7 separate regions of the Homo sapiens genome follow, and all the other regions are linked to region 7. The links are contacts of gene promoters, found by promoter capture Hi-C in blood cells and fetal thymus (Javierre and others, 2016). All regions are on one chromosome and are shown on one strand. Each heading gives the region's core, a stretch centred on a gene start or on the middle of the fragment in contact. The rest is flanking DNA. Distances are from core to core; before and after follow the strand shown.

Region 1 (3,188 bases), core at 499-2,998, 570 kb after region 7:
TACAGGCGCCCACCACAACGCCCGGCTAATTTTTTTGGTTGTTTTTTGTTGTTGTTGTTGTTTTAATTTTTAGTAGAGATCGGGTTTCACCATGTTAGGCAGGATGGTCCCGATCTCCTGACCTCGTGATCCACCCGCCTCAGCCTCCCAAAGTGCTGGGATTACAGGCATGAGCCACTGCGCCCGGCTCAGGGGATGCATTCTGAGAAGTGTGTTGTTGGGCAGTTTCATCATTGTGTGAACAACATAGAGTTACTCACACAAACCTAGATGGTGCAGTCTGCCACACACTAGGCTATATGGTAGAGCCTATTGTCCCTAGTCTACAAACCTGCACAGCATGTGACTGCTGAATAGTTAGGCAGTTGTAACACAGTGGTATGTGTGTACCCCAATATATCTGAACATAGAAATAGTATAGTAAAAATATAACATTATCATCTTACGGGTCCACTGTGGAATATGCAGTCTGTTGTTGACCAAAATGTCCTTATGTGGCACATAACTGTATTTATTACCCAGTGGCTCAAGGTAATTTTTGGAGTGCAGGTCAGAATTCCACCCAGCTTGGCTGTTTATCAGCAGTGGGACCCTGTTTAAATTGTTTAATTCCGGGGTCACAGGCTGGCCCCTGGGGGCTGTGACCTACACGCAGACCTGTTTGGTTTGGCCTGGATCACAAAGTATTTTAAATTGAGAAATTTCACAGTGAAATTCAGGTTTCTGGATTATCTTACGGACTTGGGAGATGTGGCTTTGGGGGCCCGCATTCCTGCAAAGCAAATCGTCGGGAGCTTTGCCACCTGTTGGCAGATTAACCAGAGCCTGTTTTACCTCCTGGCTTCCCCCATATCTCCTGCCTGGCCCGTGTGGGCATTTGAGTTTATGATCTCTGATTTAACCTCTTTGTGCCTCAGTTTTCTTATTTTAAAAAAAAGCCCCTTGAAAACATTATGCTAAGTGAAAGAAGCCAACCATAAAAGGCCACATATTGTGTGATTCTATTTGTATAAAATGGCCAAAATAGGCAAATCTATAGAAACAGAAAGTAGACTCGGGCTTGCCTAGGGCGCGGGGGAATGGGGAGTGACTGCCAGTGGGTGCAGGGTTTCTTTTGGGGATGGTAAAAAAATGTTCTACAATTGACGGTGGTGATGGTTGCACAGCTTCGTGAATATACAAAAGGCTGCTGACACCTACACTCTAAAAGAGTGAATTTATGGTATGTGAATTGTGTCCCAATATTTAAATTAGTGCTGTTTTGTTACAGTCTGAGGGAAGCACTTATTCAGTAGTCACAACTACTGTCACCCGAGATCAAAACAAGCCTCCTGCTGTCACTGACTCTTGCTTCTCCTTTGTAGTTTTTTCCACTGGTTGGATCCACTGTATGCTCAGTACATGCTCATTCCTACGTCATATCTGCTCATTTCTAATCAGTTCATTCCTAGGTCCAACCTAGGTTGGTTGGTGGGTGCCCAGCCAACATTTATGGAATGAGCACAACCTCGTGTGCTATGTATAAGATCACAGCTTGTCTCTGATTCTGACTTTGCACTAATACTGTTATTTGAGCATGTGCAGTACAGAGCACAGAATGCAGTTACCTAATTTAATTCTCTAAAAGCCCTGTAAAGTCATTGTCATGATTAACCCACCTACAGCTGAGGATGTTCCCTCTGAACACATGGGAACCTGAGTTCAGTGGCTAAAACCTCTGCCACCTAGGACAGAGGTTGGGACATAGGGCCATCACCAAATGACATGGGATTGGAGTTAAATGAAATCATGTGCCTGGCACACAGTGGGCACCCAGCTGGTGGTAGCTGTGCTATTTGGGGAGGGGCTAGTCTAATATAGTGGATAAGATTTTAGATCTTGGGGTTAGAAAAGCCTAGATTTGATTTTTAGATCCATCATCTACAACTTGCATGACTTTGTGTATATTTCTTAACTTCTCTGAGCCTCAGTTTCCACAAACTGTAAAATGGGTGTAATGGTACTTAACTCAGTGGCTTGTTTTAAGGTTTCAATTAGACCCTGTATGTAAACATGCAGCACGTTGCCTGGCAAATAGTAAGTACTCAGCTGATGGTTACTCACTGTGTCCTGCGTTCACAGAAGACCAGCGCTAGAGCCTCATTTCAAAACATCTCAAGTAGGCACCTCCTCTGTACTCCCTGTGTATGGAAGGAGTGCCTTGGCGATGACCGAGCACTGTGTGAAAGTGTATAGAGAAAGCTACGTTTCACTTGGGGGCCTTAGTTCTGCACAAGGGAATTGCCATCTGTAATTGGGTGCAATTGGTTTGCAGCTGAAGTGGCTTAGGGAGATGGGAGGGAGGGACTGTGACATAGTTGAAGGGATATGGACTTGGTAGATGTCAAGGGTTCAGACCTTTGGTGACCGTAGGAAAGGGGCTTGATTTACTGTTTCAGATCTGGAAGATGGGAGTGAAATAATAATAGCTACAGCAGGAGGTATCGTCGGGAATAACTGACCCCTGGAATACTCAGCAGAGTGTGAGTGCTTAGGAAGTGGTCAACTCAATAGTCCTCATGTGACCTGTGACAGTCTCTTGCGACTGTCACTGTGCTGTGGTACAGAGTTAAGCTAAGGGGTCCTGTGGCTGTGCTGGATGGCCCCAGGCTCTCCCTTGGCTCATGAAAGTCCAGATGTGTCTTGCAGTGTCCATGGCTGCTTCTCCTGTCAGGTAGTCAGTGTGGCAGTCTTTGAGACATTGAGGGTGGCGTCAAGAGCATGATGTTGGCCCCCCTTGGGGCTTGTATCTTCTGGGGAATGGGTGTTCCTGCCATCCTGCAATGCCACTGGCCAGCTGAGAACCCAGGCTCTGAGCAGCCTCTAGAGGACACCTCTCCAGCCAGGGTTCTTTAGCACTTTTTGGAGGAAACCAGGCAGAAGTGGATCCCTGCTCTGGTGTATAAGACAGCGATGTCCATGCCCTTCACATTAGTGAAGGTCTCCAGGGATTTGTGATCGTGAGAGTTTCTGGGCCAGATACTAACTTCAAAACTAGTTCAGCCTCAGATCCCCCACCTCTGGCTCCCAACCTGTAGATGAAAGGAGGGATAGTGTGGTCTTTTGAAGAGACACTAAACCTGGAACTGGGGCTGCCCAGGTTTTCAACTGCACTTACTCTGCTTCCCCTTGTAGTTTCTTTTTTTGTC
Region 2 (2,954 bases), core at 36-2,535, 550 kb after region 7:
TAAGAACTAGTTATTTTTTTAAATACTTACTCATAGTAAAACCAAATTTTACCTATATAAAAGTATATGAAATTGAAAATAAGTCTCCAGAATCCCATTTTCCCACCCTAACATAACTACTGGTAACAGTGTGGTATATATTCTTACAGTCTCTTTCTATACATCCATAGACATATTCTTCACAAAAAAGAGCTCATACTATATATGCATTTCTGGAACCTGCTTTCTTCCACTTAAAATATCATCAACATCAACACCTTTCATTTCGATGTGTATTGCTCTACACCTCTGGTTTTTTTTTTGAGACGGAGTCTCACTCTGTTGCCCAGGCTGTGGACTAGAGTGACACGATCTTGGCTCACTGCAACCTCTCCTTCCCGGGTTCAAGTGATTCTCCTGCCTCAGCCTCCCGAGTAGCTGGGACTACAGGTGCGCACCACTGCGCCCAGCTAATTTTTCTGTTTTTTTTAGAAATGGGGTTTCACCATGTTGGTCAGCCTGGTTTCGAACTCCTGACCTTGTGATCCACCCGCCTCAGCCTCCCAAAGTGCTAGGATTACAGGCATGAGCCACCGCACCAGGCCCCGCTCTACCTCATCCTTTCTAGTGGCTACACAATATTCCACTGAAATGAGAAAACTGTAATTTGTTTAACTAATCTTCTACTAATAATACATTCGAATTGTTTCCCTTGTTTTGCTATATAAGAAATGCTTTCTGTTCTTGCTTTGTTTCGCCATGGGTAATAATGGAGGATGGCAGAACCCAGGACGCTGTTCTGAGATTGGCCATGAGCAAAGAAGGAGCTGCCTAAGCTTCAGCCCTCCTACTGGCAGCACTCACCCATCTCCACATCTCCCTATGTGCGCTTCTCAGGAGACAGTCCAGCACCTGCACTTAGATTCATAGAGATCCCAGATATAGAATCACCTGAACTAGAGAAAGCTAGGAGAGGTACAGGGGAGAGAGGGTGGGCTGGTTTGGACAGGTTCCCCAGGAGCAAGAACAGCATGATCATGTGCACTATTTCTGCCCCCAACCTGCTATGGAGCCTTGGGCAGGTCTCTAGGTGGCAGGTGATGAATTAGCCTTTCAGCATGACAGGATCCTCTGTTTTCTCTTCCAGGGCACGTTCTCATTTGAATTTCAGCCCCTGAAAGCTGGAGAAACCTTCGGAAGACTAACTTTGCACAACACTGACTTGGGTTACTACCAATATGAGCTCTATCTGAAAGCCACGCCAGCACTTCCGGAAAAGCCTGTTCACTTCCAGACTGTCCTTGGCAGCAGCCAAATCATCCTTGTGAAGTTCATCAATTACACACGGCAGAGGACAGAATACTACTGCAGGGTGAGTGGCCCCTGCTCTACCTTCTGCCCTTCCCTCACATGAACGCTGGGTTCAAAAACAATGAGAGGAGACACAGGGAGCATGAATGTGAGACTCAGAGAGACTCAGGTGCTTCGTTGTCATGGTGACACCTGCCTCAGAGGCCTGAATCTAGCCTGGAAACTCCCAGCTAGAAACAAACAGCACCAGGCCTGGGTTCTTCCATTACAGACTTTCTGTCTTAACAAGCTGTGATGGAGTGTAGGGGAGTTTTGTTTCACACAGCACGCCCAGTGATCCACAGAGGGAGACAGTATAGCTTAGTAGTCATGGTATCGGCTGTGGAATCAAACAGACATGGGTTTGAGTCCTGGCTTCACCACTTACTCTTTGTATGAATAATTTGCTTAAGCTCTCTAAGCTTATTTATAAATGGGGATAATACCCCCAACCTTGCAGGATTGCTATAAGGATTTTAAATATGTATCTAAAGCCATTTTCTTAGAGCCTAGCCTATAGTAAGTGCTCCATATACATTAGCTGTTACATCAGTTGGAATATAGGTTCAACTACTAAAACAGAAACCCAAAGCTAGACACAGTGGTTCACATCTGCAATCCTAGCACTTTGGGAGGCTCAGGTGGGAAGATCGCTATAGCCAGGAGTTGAAGACCAGCCTGGGCAACATAGCGAGACCTCATCTCTATTTAAAAACATAAAATAAAATTCTAAAAAACAGAAACCACAAATAACAGCAAATTAGGTGTTGGTTTCTCTCACAAATAACAGTCTGGGCATAAGCAGTTTGAGCTGGAATGGCAGCTCGCTGACACCAGGCACCCAGACATCTTCTGTCCCGATGCTCTGCCCTCTGAAGGGAGCTGTTTTGGTCCACGTGGGCCAAGATGGTTTATCAGGACATCCACATTCCAGCCAGCTACAAGGGAAGAGGGGACAGTTGTATATATCACCTCTACTAATATTCCATGGAACAAAACTTCACAGGACCACACCTATCAACAAAGGAGCTAGGAAAGGTAGCTTTTGTACTGGGCAGTCACATGCCCAGGTAAAATCAGAGATCTTGTGGCTGTAGCCAAGAGGCAGAGGCTCTTGATCAGTTGTATCAGCCAAGAGATGCTAGGTTAGGTGCAGTAGCAATCACAGGGGCTTAAGATGAAGGCTTGTTTCTCATTTGAGCAATTTTCCAGAGAGGCCAGCAGGGGACCCTGCTCATCTCAGTCTCTTGGGATTCAAGCACCATCTCAAATATTTCCAGTACAGTATTAGAGTGGTGAAAGGACCCTGACAGGAGTTAAATTGGCAATGAAAGGCTCTAGCATGGAAGTGACACCTTTCACTTCTGCTCACAGCTAGTTGTCTGGAACTAGCACCACCCATCTGCAAGGAACCAGAATGTTTGGTCTTCCATGTACATGGAAGGAAAGAACCGAATATAGGGGATCAGCATCCATGACTGCCCTATTAACGTAATGTGGCTGTGTGTCTCAGTACACATTATTAACATCTCTTTGCCTTTGTTTCTTTGTAGCAAAATAGAAATAATAATTAGTAATACCTACCCTACAAGGGAGTTATAAGGACACAACTTTATAACATTCCC
Region 3 (3,167 bases), core at 201-2,700, 580 kb after region 7:
GAGGGATAAGCTAGTGCGGGCCTTCAAAGGGAGGAGCTTTTTTTACTGGGAGAAACTAGAAGACTCGGGGATACATATTTTGTGACCTCTCACTGAAATATGAGTGTTTGATTTTTGTTTTCTAATTCTAATTTTAGAAAATTTGGAAAGTAGAGAAAAATGCAAAGAAACAAGACTATCCCCAAGAGGCAATGAATGTTCAAATTTTGATGTATTTTTTCCAGTTTTTAATATATATACGTAGTTAAGATCATAGAACTTAACACAGCTTCACCTTCTGCTCTGTTTGTTTGAAGTTCACAGTGCCTCTTAATCCATAGTCAGAAAATAGAGTAACAGTTGCCTGGGTTTGAAGAAAAGGAGAATTGGGACTGACTGCTTACAGATGCCCGGTTTCTTTTTGGGGTTATGGAGATGTTCTAGAATTAAATAGAGGTGATGGGTGCACAACTTTGTGAATGTACTAAAAACTACCTAGTTGAACACTTTGAAAATGGTGAAATTTTTGTTATGTGAAATGTTATATGAATTATATCTCAATTTAAAAAAAAAAAAGTCAGTGCCTATTCCTCTAAATTAGAACCCAACAGCCCCTGCCACCTTTCTGCTTATGTGGCAAGAAGTCAAGCCCGCTAGAAAGGAACCACTCCATCCTGTGGGTCGTGGCCTCAACTAAAAACATCCCTACCAGCTGGAGCATTGGTGGTTCAGTGGTAGAATTCTCGCCTGCCACGCGGGAGGCCCGGGTTTGATTCCCGGCCAGTGCAGCCTATCTACCTTTTTAGATGGTTTTCCTAAGCATTTTTTCACACAGCTGCTTGCCCAGGAGAGTATTACCCTAACCAGGATACATTCATGCCTCTTGGCTCTGGATTTTACTGCCTCATAAACAGCATTTCAGCAGATGAAAAGCTCACTTTGTACTAGTTCCCAGAGATGGTAAGAGCTAATTTGGCGCCTTTACATCCACTCTCAGCCCTGCTTAGCTTGTAACTAACTAATCACCAGTCTTTTACCAAGGTGCCCAGGAGACAGTCCCTGCCAGCCGCAGGACAGATAGCTTCGCTGGTCAGGGACAAGTTCATCACAGCCTCTCCTGCTCACTCTTCCCTCTCTGCTCCCTCTGTTCCCACTCTGGTCCACCTGGCTGGAGACAGGACCTCATGCCTGGCCTTCTTTGTTTACTTGTGCTGATCCGCCGACAGCACCACGTTCCTCATGGCACACCTCCGGGCAAGAACCTTTGTGTGTGTGCATATTTGCACCCCTGCCCCACCTCCGCATCTTCTCCCTCCTCCTCTAACCACAGGACCTCCAGTCAGGGCAGCCCCTCATCTGTGCCTCTTCACTTGCTCCGACTCCCCCTTGGCCTGCCACTTGGGGCCATCCACAGCACAGTGCCGTTTCCCTGGTTCTGAGCTCTTATGGCACTTTGCGTGTCCAGCCTGGTCCCCTCCAGGACGTGACCTGATTGTCTCAGGAATGGCAGCAGAGATTCTGGGGTCTGAACAACCTGCCTATGAGTCCTGGCTCTGCTGACTTTATATCTGTTCCCCTCAGACAGCTGCCTACCCTTTCTGAGCCTCAGATTTCTTATTTGTTAAGTAGGGTAACAATAGTAATACCTAACCTATAGTGTGGTTGTGTGTTTCAGACAAAATTTTTGCATGTAAATCGCTTAGCACATGACAAACACTAACGGGTGCTTCAGTGTTGTTTTAATACATGTTTATGGCTGGGCATGGTGACTCATGCCTGTAATCCCAGCACTTTGGGAGGCTAAGGCAGGCGGATCATTTGAGGTCAAGAGTTCGAGACCAGCCTGGCCAACATGGTGAAACCCCGTCTCTACTAAAAATACAAAAATTAGGGGCCAGACGCGGTGGCTCACACCTGTAATCCCAGCACTTTGGGAGGCTGAGGTGGGCGGATCACGAGGTCAGGAGTTCGAGACCAGCCTGGCCAGCATGGTGAAACCCCATCTCTACTAAAAATACAAAAAATTAGCCAGTCATGGTGGTGCATGCCTATAGTCCAAGCTACTTGGGAGGCTGAGGCAGGAGAATTGCTTGAACCTGGAAGGCAGAGGTTGCAGTGAGCCGAGATCACACCACTGCAGCATAGGCAACAGAGCAAGACTCCATCTCAAAAAAAAAAAAACCTGGTAGAATTTTTTAAACAAGACCCACAAGCAAAAATTATTAAAAAAAAAAAAAATTGAAACAAACCATATTTAAATTAAAAACTGAAGGTGGTGTGGTGGTGCGTATCTTTAATCCCAGCTACTCAGTTTGCTGAGGTACAAGGATCCCTTGAGCCCAGGAATTTAAGTCCAGCCTGGGCAATATAGCGAGACCCCATCTCAAAACAAAATAAAATTGGTGTAACTGAAAAAAGGTTAAAAGTTACAAGGCAAGGCCCAGACTGGGAGAAGATATTTGCAATGTATTTTGTCATTAAAGAGTTAGTATCCAAACACAAGAAAGAGCTCTTTTAAGTCAGAAGAAAGAAATGGAAGAAAAATGTGAAAGTCCATGACAGGGCCATTAATCCTTTATGTAACAAATGGGCCAGGTGCAGTGGCTCATGCCTGTAATCCCAATACTTTGGGAGGCTGAGGCGGGAGGATTGCTTAAAGCCAGGAGTTTGAGACCAGCCTGGGCAACAAAGTGAGAGACCCTGTCTCTACAAAAATAATAATTTTAAAAAATTAGCTGGGCGAGGTGGCACACACCTTTAGTCACAGCTACTTGGGAGACTGAGGCAGGAGGATCTCCTGAGCCCAGGAGCTCGAGGCTGCAGTGAGCCATGATCACGCCACTACAGCCTGGGGGAGAGAATGAGACCCCATTTCTAAAAAACAAACAAAAAATGCTACAATAGTTCTTATGGTGGGTGTCATTTTAAACACCTAACAAATGTTAGCTCATTCATTGTCATAGCAAGCTTAGGGTATAGGTACTGTCATTACCCCCATTGTACAGGTGAAGAAAGGCTTTAGAAGGGGTAACTGCTCTTCCAATTTGGAAATACACATAAATTGGTAGAACCTAAAGGACAATACCTATTAAAATAAGAAGTGCCCAATCCTTCCCCTCAGCAGTCCCACCCTGCATGAAAGCACAGGAGAGATGTAAGAGTGAAAATCTGGAGACAATCTAAATTAA
Region 4 (3,014 bases), core at 261-2,760, 600 kb after region 7:
ACCATAACAGCAGTGAAGAGCCTCTGCTTCCCCTTCTGTCTAGAGGAGGGATTTGGGGACCTTCATCATTAGTGATGAGTCCTGATCTTACCCCATCCGGTTGCTTTCCAGAATCACATTCCTAAGTGTCCCCTGCTTAATCTTTGGTGAGCCTGAGGGTGTGCTGTGTACTTGGCAATGGGAAAACAACCATGAACAAGACAAAGCCCATCTTCTCCTGAAACTTCCTTTCTAGGATATCTAGAAAGTGCCCTCTCAGGATTTTTCAAGTATTTCCAAACAGCCCTGATCTCGAATTGGAGCTCCCTGGGATTCAAGACTATGAAAGCTTGTTAGGTTAAGCAGGAACACAGCCAGACAGGCAGGTCCTCTCCTACCAAAGTCCTCACTCATGGAAGTTAACCTCAGTGCTCGCTGCGAAGGCTCTCACTTCCAGCTAGGCAGCCCCGCGGCACAGGTTGTCGTGGAAGATTCTTAACTGTAGGAAGTCATTACCATGGGAGGAATCGCGCTAGACCCTTCACTTGTGTCTGTAGAACCCTCACGACGGTTCTCTGCGGGGAGTCGTCTTACTTCCATTTTGCATTTCTAAAAACTATGGCCTGAGGAGGTCACATGACCTGCACACAGCTAGGAGGTGGTAGAGCCCAAACCCAGAGCCAGATCTGTTTGGCACTAAAGCCTGGGCCCTTAATCGCTTCCTCACCAGGCCTGAGTCTCACCCAGCATGCTCCCAGCCCATGTCAGCAGCAGGAGGCGAGCTTGTGTGTGGTTGTATCTTCCTCCTCATTTCCTCATGATTTCACCAGGGGAAGGTTTTGTGGTCTTGTTCCAGAAGTTCTTGAGCGTGGAGAGTATGGAGAGGTGTATGTGTTTTTTGTTGTTTTTGTGGGTTTTTTGTTTTTGTTTGTTTGTTTTTTTGACATGGAATCTCACTCTCGCCCAGGCTAGAGTGCGGTGATGTGATGTCGGCTCACTGCAACCTCCACCTCCGGGGTTCAAGCAGTCCTCCTGCCTCAGCCTCCCAAGTATCTGGGATTACAGGCATGTACCACCACACCTGACTAACTTTTTGCATTTTTAGTAGAGACGGGCTTTCACCACGTTGGCCAGGCTGGTCTTGAACTCCTGACCTCAAGTGATCTGCCTGCCTTGGCCTCCCGAAGTGCTGGGATTACAGGCATGAGCCACCATGCCCAGCTGGTATGTGTACTTTGAAAAAGCTCCCCCTTCAGCCCCCAGATCCTTCGTCCACTTTTCTTATTGATCTGTAGCAGCTCTTTGTATATTTGGGACATTCACTTTGTCATCTGTGTTGCAAATGTCTTGCTCTCCCAGGATGGTTGTGATAAACCCACATGCTCCTCCCTCTCGCTGAGAGCCACTGCTCGCAGGGGACAGTGTGCTCAGGTGTTGGTGATGCAAGAGCTGGCGCAGCAGAGCCTCAGAGACCCAGCTCTGCTGCCACCACCATCTCTGTCAGTCCCACGGGTGCGTGGCCTCGCTGGGGTGTCTCGTCTGCCATTGTTCCTCAGTTCCACCGAGTGACACCTCGTTAGTCTCCACCCTCTGGCATCCTCAGTTGTCTCTGCCTTCCCATTATTCAAGATAAGTGGCTGTTTCCTCAGCACCACCTGCTCCTTGCAGACGTTATCTGAAAATTCCTTTTGTCAAAAAGAATTTGCAGGTGTCAAATTAATATTCCTGGCACTGGAGTAGAAATCCTCCCATAGCTAGAGATCTGATTGTTTTTTAAGTGAAAATGTGACCCTGATTTCCACAGTGCAGAATGCAGGGTGCGTGCTCACTGCATCCTGCTGGGTCCCTGTTTGGGAGGTGAGACTGCTGCTTCCCCTGCCCAGAAGATGCCAGTTGTTGGCTGCCTGGCAGCTGGGCAGCCGCCATGCTGCCTGAGTGAGTTCTGCCTGTAAGATGGCCATACCCCCACCTGTGAGTATCCACGGGATGGGGGCCCTCTCCATGGTCCCGATGGTGGGACCTCAGGTAGTCCACAACTCCTAGGCACAGCTGCCTCCCAGCCTGCTTTTGGAACTCTCAGGGTGATCACAGTCTCCAGAAAATCCTGGAAGGATGTCTATTCCCCTGTGAGTGAACGTGAACATCCCAGACAGGTGGCCATGACCCTGGCTTGAATCCTAGCTCTAAACCTTCCTTACCGGGGACCCTGGCCAAGGAGTTTACCCTCCCTGGGCCTGTGAAAAGGGGATAATGATGTCTACACCAGCCTCATAGGCGTGTTTAAAGAGAAAGCGTAACCCCCTCACCCAGACCCTGGCCCATTATAATGACCTGTCTGTCGTTACAAGTATGTTGGGGGAACTTGGCGTCTCACTGTGGTGAACTCCCCCACCCAGGAGCCAGGCTCTTTCTCAGTCCTGTGAGCCATCTTGATGTCCTTCAGTAATGCTTTAGAGTCTTTTTTTGTAGGTTTTATTCACTTATGATGAGTACTCTCAGTGTTTTGTAATTTTGATGTGATTCTGAATGACTTCCCTCTCTGGTTCTTCCTTCTCTACCCAGGTGACACTGAGGCCTGGTGGTTAAGAGCACGGGCTTTGGGTTCAGGAAGTCTAGGAGTCCACCTTGGGCTCTGCCACTTGATGGTTGGTAACCTAGCCTCTCTGAGCTTTAGGTTCCTTATTTGTAAACAGAAAATAATAGTGGAAGCTTGCTCCCAGGTTTGTTATAAGGATGAAATGAGATCATGAATGTCAAATGCTCCCCTTGGGACCCAGCACACATAAACCCACGATAAGCAGTAGCTCCTCCGATGCAGGAGGTCATTTCTGTAAAGGGCCTGGAGATGCACATTGAGATCAGGGCAATGGGCTCTGCATCTGCTCCGGGTCCTCCCTGCTTCTGCTTCAGCAGCAAAACCCAGGACAGAAGCTGCTCTCTGTTTTCCTGCCTGTCTCTAGAGGCCGGAGGACCTCAGGGGTGTTTGAGGGACTTGAGTTCCATTTTGAGGTCATAGAAAGGCAGACAAGGACACA
Region 5 (3,141 bases), core at 232-2,731, 660 kb after region 7:
GGCACGCCTATGACCTCATCCAGAAGTTGTATCCTTCCTCTCACTGTGGTTGGGGTTGAGCCTCTGAGGGGCAGGAAGGGGCCGGCTGCCCCCTTTCCACCCAACAGGCGGGCCCAAGTGCCATGCTCCTGTCCCCACCCCTCCACTCAGCCTCAGGGCTTGTGACATCAGGGCTGCCAGGACACTGGGAGGGGAGGGACGTATTTGGGAGAGCGAGATTGGCAGCAAAGAGGGGCTCTTGGAGGGGGAGCTGGCCCGGGAGAAACCCTGTGGGTTGGGATTGGGACTGAGTAGGCCCAGCCCGGCAGGTGCCAGCGGGTGATGCTGGACCATCTTGCTGGGGTGGGAGAGAACCCCAGCTCCTGCCCCTGGGAGAAGGTGGCTGCCCTCTGCTCATTGTAGTTCCTCCTGGGCCTGGTGTGGGGGTGGGGGAGAAGGCCTGGAGCTGGGAATATGGGTGGATGGCTGGGTGAGCCTGCAGGCTTCAGCCCAGGCGTGGGCCTTCGGGGGCCACAGAGCTAGAGCCCGACAGGCTTGAGGATGACACACTGGGGAGAAGCAGGCTGGGCAGAGGCCTCAGAAGCAGGAGGCACCCATTCTCACCTCAGCACTGCGCTCATCAAAAGGCATCCAGAGTTAGATGTTTTGTTTTTTGAGGTGGAGTCTTGCTTTGTCACCCAAGCTGGAGTGCAGTGGGGCGATCTTGGCCCATTGCAACCTCCGCCTCCTGGGTTTAAGTGATTCTCCTGCCTCAGCCTCCCAGGTAGCTGGGATTACAGGCGTTCACCACCATGCCCGGCTAATTTTTGTATTTTTAGTAGAGACAGGGTCTCACCATGTTGGCCAGGCTAGTCTCAAACTCCTGACCTCAAGCGATCTGCCCATCTCGGCCTCCCAAAGTGCTGGGATTACAGGTGTGAGCCACCGCGCCTGGCCAGATTTTTTTTAAAACACCAGTAAGCAAACTAGCCCCATCCATGGGTGCCTGACATGTAACCCAGGATTGGAGTGCTATTTAGAAGGCAACATGACCAGCCAGGAGTTGGGAGTAAGGAAGAAGGGACCAGGAGGTGCCTCAGTGGAGGGCTAGGTGTGGCCCTGCCTGGCTCCCCACAGTGTGCCTGCTTCCCTTCTACAACCTGGATTTGCTCCTCTCAGCCACTTCTGTCACCCAGAGACTGGCAGGCCACTGCCCAGTGCCGCAAGCTTGCTGCAGCCCTGCTGGCAGGAAAGGAGAGAACCCTTCCTGCCCAGCCCTCCCCCAACGGGCTGCAGCGCTGTGATAAGAGCCTCTCCCAGCCCGGGAGGGTGCAGAGGAGACAGCTGCTAGAGTGGAACCTGGAACTCCTGAACAGGGGAGTTCCATTTAGGACAGAAAGGCGAGGAACAGGGAAGAGCCTGGTGTCCTTTGTGCGCCAAATCCTGCTTCACCACAACCAGGCTCTGTGCACAGGAAGCCAGGTGCAGGGGGGGAGGGCGTGTGGTGCTGTGAGCTGCGGCTGTGCTGGCCCAGCAGACAGACTTTCCTTGACTGCACACCCAGTGGGGACCTGGAGGTCACCGTGGACTTCCTCGCAGAGGTGGACAAGCTGGTGCAGCTGATTGAGTGCCCCATCTTCACATGTAAGAACCACCTCCCACCACACCTCGCGCCATGAGTCCAAGGCTGCCCTGGAGTGGGGTGGGTGAAGTCAAGCTCCAGTTGGTCTCTTTTGGCTGGGGAGGGAGGAAGAGCAGTCACCCCAGGGAAGCTTCTGGAATGTTGAGAATGTGAGACTTATAATCCCAGCACTTTGGAGGCTGAGGCTGGAGCATCTCTTAACGGCAGGAGTTCGAGACCAGCCTGGGCACCATAGTGAGATCTCATCTGCACAAAATTTTTTAAAAATTAGCCAGGCATGAGAGTGCATGCCTATAGTCACCACTACTCAGAAGGCTGAGGTAGGAGGATCACTTGAGCCCAGGAGGTTGAGACTACAGTGATCTGTGACTGTACCACTGCACTCCAGCCTGGGTGACAGAGCAAGACCCTGCCTCAGAAAAAAAAAAAAAAAAAAGACTGGGATGATAGGCCTGCAAGGCCAGCCAGAGCAGGGCTGGGGCACGTGGCATCAGAACCTGGATCCTGCCTGTATCCCTCACAGTGAGTCTCCTGGACATGAGCCAGCGCTGACAGCAGAACCCCCTTGAAGGCTGATACCAGGCCCCTGGGCTGTCCCCAGCCACCCCTCCGGGTCTGCTGCCTCTGCTCTGGCTCTCTGAAGTTGTGGGTCCCGAGTCCCTCTGCAGGTGCTCCTGTTGGCCCAAGAGCCATGCCTGTACCTCTCTGAAAGAAGAGTTGGCATTTGCTGGGAGCCAGTGGGCAGGAGCTGCCTGCTTAGTAACACCCAGGCTGAATGTGCAAAAGTGGCAGCTGGCTGGGGCGAGCACAGCTCTCAGCACCTCAACATACACACTTTGAATGACGCTTATGTGCTTATAATGTGCAGAGAAGCCAGGAGGCCACTCTGCTGGTGGCCACCTTCCCTGCCAAGCTGGCCACCCGGCCTCTCCCACTCTCTGGCAGCGTCTCTGACCCGCCCGGCCTAAGCCCATCAGCCTGAGCCCTGGAGCCTGAATTGAATGCAGGGGCTGAAGAACACCCGTTCCCATCCCCTCCTGAGCCCCCTTCAAAGGGCAGCCTCATCAAGCAGCAGGGTGCCGTAGGAACTGATGCCCTGGAGACAGAAGAGCAGGGGGGAGACCCTGCTCTCCGCAGAGTGCGCTAAAGCCTGTCCCAGGTGTGCCCAGCGTGACACTTCCCCGAGGGCCTCCCAGGGACACAGGCACCCACACGGCCGCCTGAGGTCAGATCCTAAAAAGACCCTGCTCCTGCTGCTGGTCTGTCCTGACTCATCTCTCCAGTTGTACATTCTTGGCATTCCAGAAGCATCCCTAGGATGACTGCCCTCCCTCCCTGACCCTGGAGGAACTCCAAGCACCTTCTCCTCAAGCCCAGGGCTTTGCTGGGGCAGGGTAACAGGAGAGACACACCCTGGTCTCGCCCAACACCGTCCCAGCCCTGAGTCGCCTGGATCCTAGAGGTGGCTGGTGTGGCCACCGGCAGTGCCTGCTTCCCAAAGGCCCAAAGGGAAGAAAGGA
Region 6 (3,219 bases), core at 46-2,545, 680 kb after region 7:
TTGGGTGGGGAGGACAGTAAGCACAGAGTGAAGTGCTGGTGGGGGCCCCCCTTTGCCAGGCACCCCTCTCCCCAGAATCACTGGCTGGACATCCAGAGCTTGGGAGAAGCCAGGCACAGCAATCAGCTACTACCTCAGAGAGAGGCTCTTCAGACCCTGCGTGGGTGGCCGTCCCACAGTGAAGGGGCTGATTGCAGGGGACAGCCATGAGCAGGGGCAGAGGCTGGGAGGCTTCAGGGTCACGCTTAGCCAGGAACACCACCCAAGGGTTGAATTGCTGTGCTGAGGGTGTGAGCCATAGAGGGCTGGACACCCTTGAGGGATTGGAGAGAGTGAGGGTGATGGTGGGTGCAGGACCCACTTGGAAGGTGACCTCTGTACGCACACACACCATCACCATATGCTAGACATCCAGTTAGGACTGGATGGCAAATACCAGATTTTGAGAAGGTGGTTTAGGAATGATTGGACTCACCGGGGGCAGTCGTTCACGCCTGTAATCCCAGCAGTTCGGGAGGCCGAGGCAGGCGGATCACGAGGTCAGGAGATTGAGACCATCCTGGTAAAAACGGTGAAACCCCGTCTTTACTAAAAAATACAAAAAAATTAGCCGGGCATGGTGGTGTGTGCCTGTAGTCCCAGCTACTCGGGAGGCTGAGGCCTCAGTGATAAAGATATATTCTTTAGGATATAGGAATCTAGATTAAGATCTTTGGTGAAACCAATAGGTTTTTTGGTGGGTTTTTTGGGTTTTGTTGTCATTGTGAGACAGGGTCTCGCTCTGTCACCCAGGCTGGAGTGCAGTGGCACAATCATGGCTCACTGTGGCCTCGACCTCCCGGGTTCAAGCGATTCTCCTGCCTCAGCTTCCCAAGTAGCTGGGAATACAGGTGTGCACCACCACGCCTGGCTAATTTTCATATATTTTGTAGAGACAGGGTCTCACCCTATTGCCCAGGCTGGTCTCAAATTCCTGGACTCAAGCAATCCACCCACCTCAGACTCCCAAAGTGCTGGGACAGGTGTGAGCCACCACGCCCAGACAGGACAACTGTTTCTTGTTTCTTTTTTTTTTTTTCAAGACAGAGCCTTGCTCTCCTAGGCTGGAGTGCAGTGGCATAATCTTGGCTCACTGCAACCTCCGCCTCCCAGGTTCAAGTGATTCTCGTGCCTCAGCCTGCCAAGTAGCTGAGATTACAGGCATGCGCCACCATGCCCAGCTAACTTTTGCATTTTTAGTGGTGATGGGGTTTCGCTATGTTCTCCAGGCTGGTCTTGAACTCCTGTCCTCAAATGATCCACCCGCCTTGGTCTCCCAAAGTTCTGGGATTACAGACATGAGCCACTGTGCCCAGCCTGGACAACTGTTCTTAGTGGCAGAATAGGAGGCAGAGAGGTTGCCTCACCCTGGGCATTCCCTGACCACGGCTCCCCTCAGCACTGGGGCTGGGGGTACCCTGCTCTGGCCCTCCCCTTCCACACCGTCCCAGAACACAGCTCCTGTGTAGCACCTGGGTCTCAGGACCTCCTAGTCTGACATTGTCTTTTCCTTCCTTTGCCCCTCACCTCTTTCCCCACCCTCGTTTGTCAACCTCCCCCAAACACACACCCCTCTGTCTCCCTGTCTGGCTGCTGTGCCCTCTTCCTTCACTCCCCTAGTGCCCCCAGCAGCAGTAGCAGTGCCAAGGGTGGCGGAGCCCCATGGCCTGGGGGTGCCCAAACATACTCACCCAGTTCCACCTGTCGCTACCGCAGCCTGGCGCAGCCAGCCACCACCACCGCTCGCCTCTCCAGCGTTTCCTCCCATGACTCTGGCTTCGTCTCCCAGGACGCCACCTACTCCAAGCCCCCCTCGCCTATGCCTTCAGACATCACCAGCCAGGTGAGGGGGCGTTAGGAGGATCAGTCAGGGTGGGGTGCAGCAGCCTTATGCCAGCATCAGGCAAGCCACATGCGGGACTACTATAGCTGTTGAGACTACTATAGCTGTTGAGACTGGCCTGAAGGCCCCCAAGGCCTTTATTCTGTTCAGTATTTATATTATTATTTTCTATCTCTGCTTTTAAATTCACATATCTTTATATCTTAAATGAGTCTCTTGTAAGCAGCATAATGCCTAGATTTTCTTTTTTTATCCAATCTGACAACCTCTATCTTTTAATTGCCATTTTTAGCCCCTTTGTATTTACTGACATATTTGGACTTCTGGCTTTCTTCTTTCTATTTGTCCTGAATTCTTGTCTCTACCCTTGACTTTGTTTTTTCTTTTCTCTTATTCCCCGTCTGCTGGATTGTAAGTTATATTCTGTCTCTTTTCTTTTATAGGTTACCTTGAAATCTTACCATATGCATACTTAACACAACCCCACCTCCTGAGTAATTCAAGGCCCTTAATATATATTTTTTTACTTGTCACCCACTCCTTCTCAAACTTACAAGCTATATTATTTTCTCTTTTTTTTTACAGTACCCACAAATGACATTTTTCTTCTTAATTTCTTTATTTTATACATACAGTACTTATTTAGATTTACCCATATGTTAATACACATTTCTTGTCATTTTTTTCTTGCATCTCAAATCCTCCAAAGCTTATTTTCTTTCTTTCTGAAGTAAAAAACATCTTTTAGAAGTTCTTTTAGAATAGATCTGTAGTTGTAAACTCTCAGTTTTTGTTTGTTTGTCTGTAAACATGTTTTATTTTGTCCTCTTCTTGAAAGTTCGTTTTGCCAGGAACACTATTCTGGGGTGACAGTTGTCTTCCATCCACACTGTGAAGGTATTTTTCCGCTGTGTTCTGGCTTCCACCATTGGTTGGAAGGTCAGCTGTCAGTCACTGATGCTTCTTTCTGAGGAATCTGAGTCTCTCTCTGGGCACTTTTAGGCCTTCTCTTTAGTTTTGCTACAGCGTGTCTACAATGTGGATTTATTTTTATTTAACCTCTCCTTGTTGGTATTCATGTCTTTCATTTGTCCTTGGAATTTTCAGTCATTATTTCATTTTGTTTTGTTTTGTTTTGTTTTGAGACACGATCTTACTCTGTCACCTAGGCTGGAGCACAGTGGCGCGATCTTGGCTCACTGCAACCTCCTCCTCCTCCCAGGCTCAAGCGATCCTCCCACCTCACCCTCCAAAGCAGCTGGGACTATAGGCATGCACCACCATGCCCAGCTAATTTTTGTATTTTTAGTAGAGACAACATTTTGCCATGTTGCCCA
Region 7 (2,916 bases), core at 228-2,727:
ACCTCCACACCCTGCCAAGGCGAGGAAGGGAGGAGGGAAGAATGGAGTGAGGCACACCTGATGCCCCTCTGTTTTCCATCCCCCTTGCTCTCAGACCCCAGGATAAACTCCCTGTCATCCCACACAGATCTGGGACAGGGGCCTGAATGACAGGTGTCAGAGCCCACAAGGCTGAGCCTGGCCCCCTGGGGGGCTGTGCAGTGCAGTGGTTAAGAACTTGTCTTCTGGAGACAGCATCTGTCTTAGCCTTTCCCGTTGGCCTCCCTTTGGGGTCAGCCCCTCCAGGAGCCATTAGCTACCCGAGGGGAGGGTAGCTACAGACACCACAAAATGTCTGAGATGCCAGGATATTTTGGATGCTCATCTTAGCCAGGTCTGTGCGTAGAGAGGGAAATCAGATCACTTATTTTTTCGGAGTAACAGAAACAGAGTCTCTAGTGATATCAAAAGCCTCTAAAGGAGGACCACCCTTTATGCCTGAGTCAGACCACCACAGACACTTGGAATCCCAGTGCTGGGGGCTACCTCCAAAGGTCATTTGGTCTGGCCCTTGCTTTTTGGGTGAGTCAGTGTCAAGACCACACAGAGCAGAGGGTTAGTCACTGAGGCACTTAGGGTGGTGCCTCCCCCTACCCAGAGATGAAGTCACCAAGAGTACCCAGGATTATCACTATGAGGGAACAGGTCTGGGACTGGCACCCCAACGCTGCCCGCCACCACACCCACTGCTGCTGTATTGGGAAACCTACATGCCCACGGCGGCTGGAAAATGGACAAAGGAAGCAGGGGGGTGTTCAGGGCCCCCAATGCCATTTTCCACTCCTGCTCCCAGCCAATCAAGCTGGGGAGGCCACGTTTCCCTTCAGGATCCCCTAATTTATCCCAGCCTCCAGCAGGGTAAGGGGGCTAACCTAGCATTCAACAAAAGGGGAAGAGGAGGAAAGAAATGAGTGGTCTTCTGAGACCTGTGGCTGGAGCAGCTGAAGGCAGGGGAGGTGGGGGAGATGGCAGGGGGAACCTGGAGGCCTTCCCAGCCCAGGCCACCTCTCTGAGAAAGCTCCCACTTGCTCAGAATAAAGGTGCAAATGCGGGTGGGCTCTGGGTCATCTATGTTAGGGAAGAAAGTTACTGACAGTTGTGCCCAGAGCAGCCGGATGTCTCCCAAACCCGGGACCACTACCCCAGCAGGCTCTGCGACCAGACCACCTCCTGAGGGCAAACGTACACCTGCCCGCATTCAGCGCCGCCCCCTGCCCCCTTCACCGCAGGTCCCCTGGGTGCCAATGGGCACAGAAGTTGGGAGCTTTACTGACCGTCTGCGTCAAAGTGCTTCCATATTTCCAGGAACTGGGACGCCGTCAGCTCGGCCAGGTGCAGGTAAGGGGGCTGCTGCTGCGGGCCAGCCATGGCGAGCCGCTCGGAGACCTCAGCCTGCACCGCTCCCGCTCCGCGCCGGCTGGGCTCTGGCACTCGCGCTGGGGTTGTGCGCCACGCTGCCCTTATATACGCTCTGGAGCCTGCGCCTGCGCCCGGCCGCCAGAAGGGGGCGCGCGCGCTCAGGGAATCCGACCGGGGCGCGGCGCGGCGGGGGCGGCGGCGCGAGAGGCTCGGCCCGGACTCCTAGAGGGCCCTTACCTCTGCGCTGAGACCCCTCGGCGCGGGGCCAGGGACACCCGGAGGATTTTCGGTGAAAATGAGGGAGAGGCTGCCCTTGCCTTCCCTCCCGACCGTCTTGAGTACATCCACCACTTATTATTGCTGGCAGTAGCAATAATAATAACAGCAGTAACAACACTAATAGTAATACTAACACAAACTTGACAAATATTTAGCACTCGGGCTTCGGAGTTCACTAGGTCTCTGTCGTGCCTCCTCTCTTCTGATCCTTCCACAGCAGGAAGAGCTGGGACCACTTTTCTGATGAGGTACTTGTGACTTCAGATGATTAAGTGACTGGCCCAGCAAATTAGTGGCAGGGCTACAATTTGAACTCAGCACTCTTTCCACGCCGCACGTGGCTCCTTCATGGGGCTCAGTCTTGCAGAGCAGCCAAGAGTTCTCAAGGCTTTAGTGGGGAGCAGCTGGAATCAGCAGTGCCCCGGGAGGATTCCGATGGAAGTGGTGTGGGGTGGGGGTGGGGGGCTTCCACTGTCTGTTTGGGTCTTCGTATATCCGTCCCCTCGGAGCCTCCCTCCACCCCTGGTACCTGCCTCACGCTGGCCATGCTCTGGGGGGCTTTTAGACATTTGGCCAGGGGGTGGCAGAACTAGATCAACCCGTACCAGGTCTTAACCACGCCCACCTAGGGACATCGTGGGAATGTGCCTGCTCCAGTGGACAGAGAACAACGTCCAACTCTGTCTTGGGGATGTTCTGAGCTGGTCTCAGAGAAAATAGACGCAGCTACTGAGCGCACATCCTGAGGGCAGCAGACAGGACTCCCCAGCAGGGAGCTGGGCCCTCTCCCCATTCTCTCCTGCGGTCTGAGCCCTTAGGGGTCTGTCCTGGCCTTGTGGTGTGGTAAGGTAAGACACATTACCCACAGAGTGACAGCATCATCCCTCCTTTCTCCCCTCTCCTGCTACGGAGTGACTGAGACATGAATTGGCGATCTTTAACATGTGCTAATGAGTGTTAGCTGAACCACCTTCCAAGAGGAGAGTGAAAGGCAAGGAGGTAAGTGAGAATGAAAAGGAGGTCGCTGGGGGAGAGGGGAACCCAGGAGGAGACAGAGAGAGGGTTGTCCCTTGGAGAGAGGGCCAAGCCCAGAGCGAGTCTCAAAGGGGCAATAGAGAATGCAGGTTCCAAAACCACTTGTTCTTTGCCTAGGGTGAATGTGTTTAGAGTTACTTGCAGGAACAGACTGGGGGGAGAAGTCATCAAAAGCTAGCTTTAGAGGTACCCATCCACCTTGCT

The links. Contacts are between HindIII fragments. The CHiCAGO score rates a contact against its expected background, and 5 or more counts as called.
Region 1: a contact is called between a fragment that was not itself captured here and the fragment with the promoter of CALB2 in region 7, in 3 of 17 cell types (megakaryocytes, erythroblasts and M0 macrophages). The highest score is 10.2, in megakaryocytes.
Region 2: a fragment that was not itself captured here is called in contact with the fragment with the promoter of CALB2 in region 7 in 5 of 17 cell types (megakaryocytes, endothelial precursors, M0 macrophages and 2 more); the score reaches 10.8 in megakaryocytes.
Region 3: a fragment that was not itself captured here is called in contact with the fragment with the promoter of CALB2 in region 7 in 2 of 17 cell types (megakaryocytes and M1 macrophages); the score reaches 6.4 in megakaryocytes.
Region 4: a fragment that was not itself captured here is called in contact with the fragment with the promoter of CALB2 in region 7 in 2 of 17 cell types (M0 macrophages and M1 macrophages); the score reaches 6.5 in M0 macrophages.
Region 5: a fragment that was not itself captured here is called in contact with the fragment with the promoter of CALB2 in region 7 in 1 of 17 cell types (M0 macrophages); the score reaches 6.0 in M0 macrophages.
Region 6: a contact is called between a fragment that was not itself captured here and the fragment with the promoter of CALB2 in region 7, in 3 of 17 cell types (M0 macrophages, megakaryocytes and M1 macrophages). The highest score is 7.0, in M0 macrophages.

Annotation. Positions count from the first base shown.
Region 1 is chr16:70,792,186-70,795,373 of GRCh38, reverse strand. The region is part of intron 1 of VAC14 (VAC14 component of PIKFYVE complex); the gene reads left to right. Among named protein-coding and RNA genes, the nearest start is that of TRG-GCC2-5, 4.3 kb to the right of the region's middle. The HindIII fragment of the contact is 6,132 bases long and covers 1-3,188 here.
Region 2 is chr16:70,808,180-70,811,133 of GRCh38, reverse strand. HYDIN (HYDIN axonemal central pair apparatus protein) reads left to right here. Exons shown (of 86, transcript NM_001270974.2): 85 at 1,127-1,351. Among named protein-coding and RNA genes, the nearest start is that of VAC14, 8.5 kb to the right of the region's middle. The HindIII fragment of the contact is 936 bases long and covers 818-1,753 here.
Region 3 is chr16:70,775,811-70,778,977 of GRCh38, reverse strand. The region is part of intron 9 of VAC14 (VAC14 component of PIKFYVE complex); the gene reads left to right. It overlaps TRG-GCC3-1 (tRNA-Gly (anticodon GCC) 3-1), which reads left to right and starts at 697; the gene lies at 697-767. The HindIII fragment of the contact is 2,996 bases long and covers 1-2,948 here.
Region 4 is chr16:70,757,533-70,760,546 of GRCh38, reverse strand. The region is part of intron 12 of VAC14 (VAC14 component of PIKFYVE complex); the gene reads left to right. The region is part of intron 2 of VAC14-AS1 (VAC14 antisense RNA 1); the gene reads right to left. Among named protein-coding and RNA genes, the nearest start is that of VAC14-AS1, 3.9 kb to the right of the region's middle. The HindIII fragment of the contact is 2,360 bases long and covers 331-2,690 here.
Region 5 is chr16:70,694,026-70,697,166 of GRCh38, reverse strand. It overlaps VAC14 (VAC14 component of PIKFYVE complex), which reads left to right. Exons shown (of 19, transcript NM_018052.5): 16 at 1-28; 17 at 1,544-1,623. Among named protein-coding and RNA genes, the nearest start is that of MTSS2, 9.5 kb to the right of the region's middle. RefSeq lists enhancers at 1-22, 849-1,675, 1,676-2,501, 2,502-3,141. The HindIII fragment of the contact is 545 bases long and covers 1,209-1,753 here.
Region 6 is chr16:70,672,969-70,676,187 of GRCh38, reverse strand. MTSS2 (MTSS I-BAR domain containing 2) reads left to right here. Exons shown (of 15, transcript NM_138383.3): 11 at 1,660-1,882. Among named protein-coding and RNA genes, the nearest start is that of MTSS2, 11 kb to the left of the region's middle. The HindIII fragment of the contact is 2,596 bases long and covers 1-2,593 here.
Region 7 is chr16:71,357,284-71,360,199 of GRCh38, reverse strand. It overlaps CALB2 (calbindin 2), which reads right to left and starts at 1,477. Exons shown (of 11, transcript NM_001740.5): 1 at 1,314-1,477. The coding sequence starts at 1,407. RefSeq lists a silencer at 1,449-1,678 and an enhancer at 781-1,746. The HindIII fragment of the contact is 14,542 bases long and covers 1-2,916 here.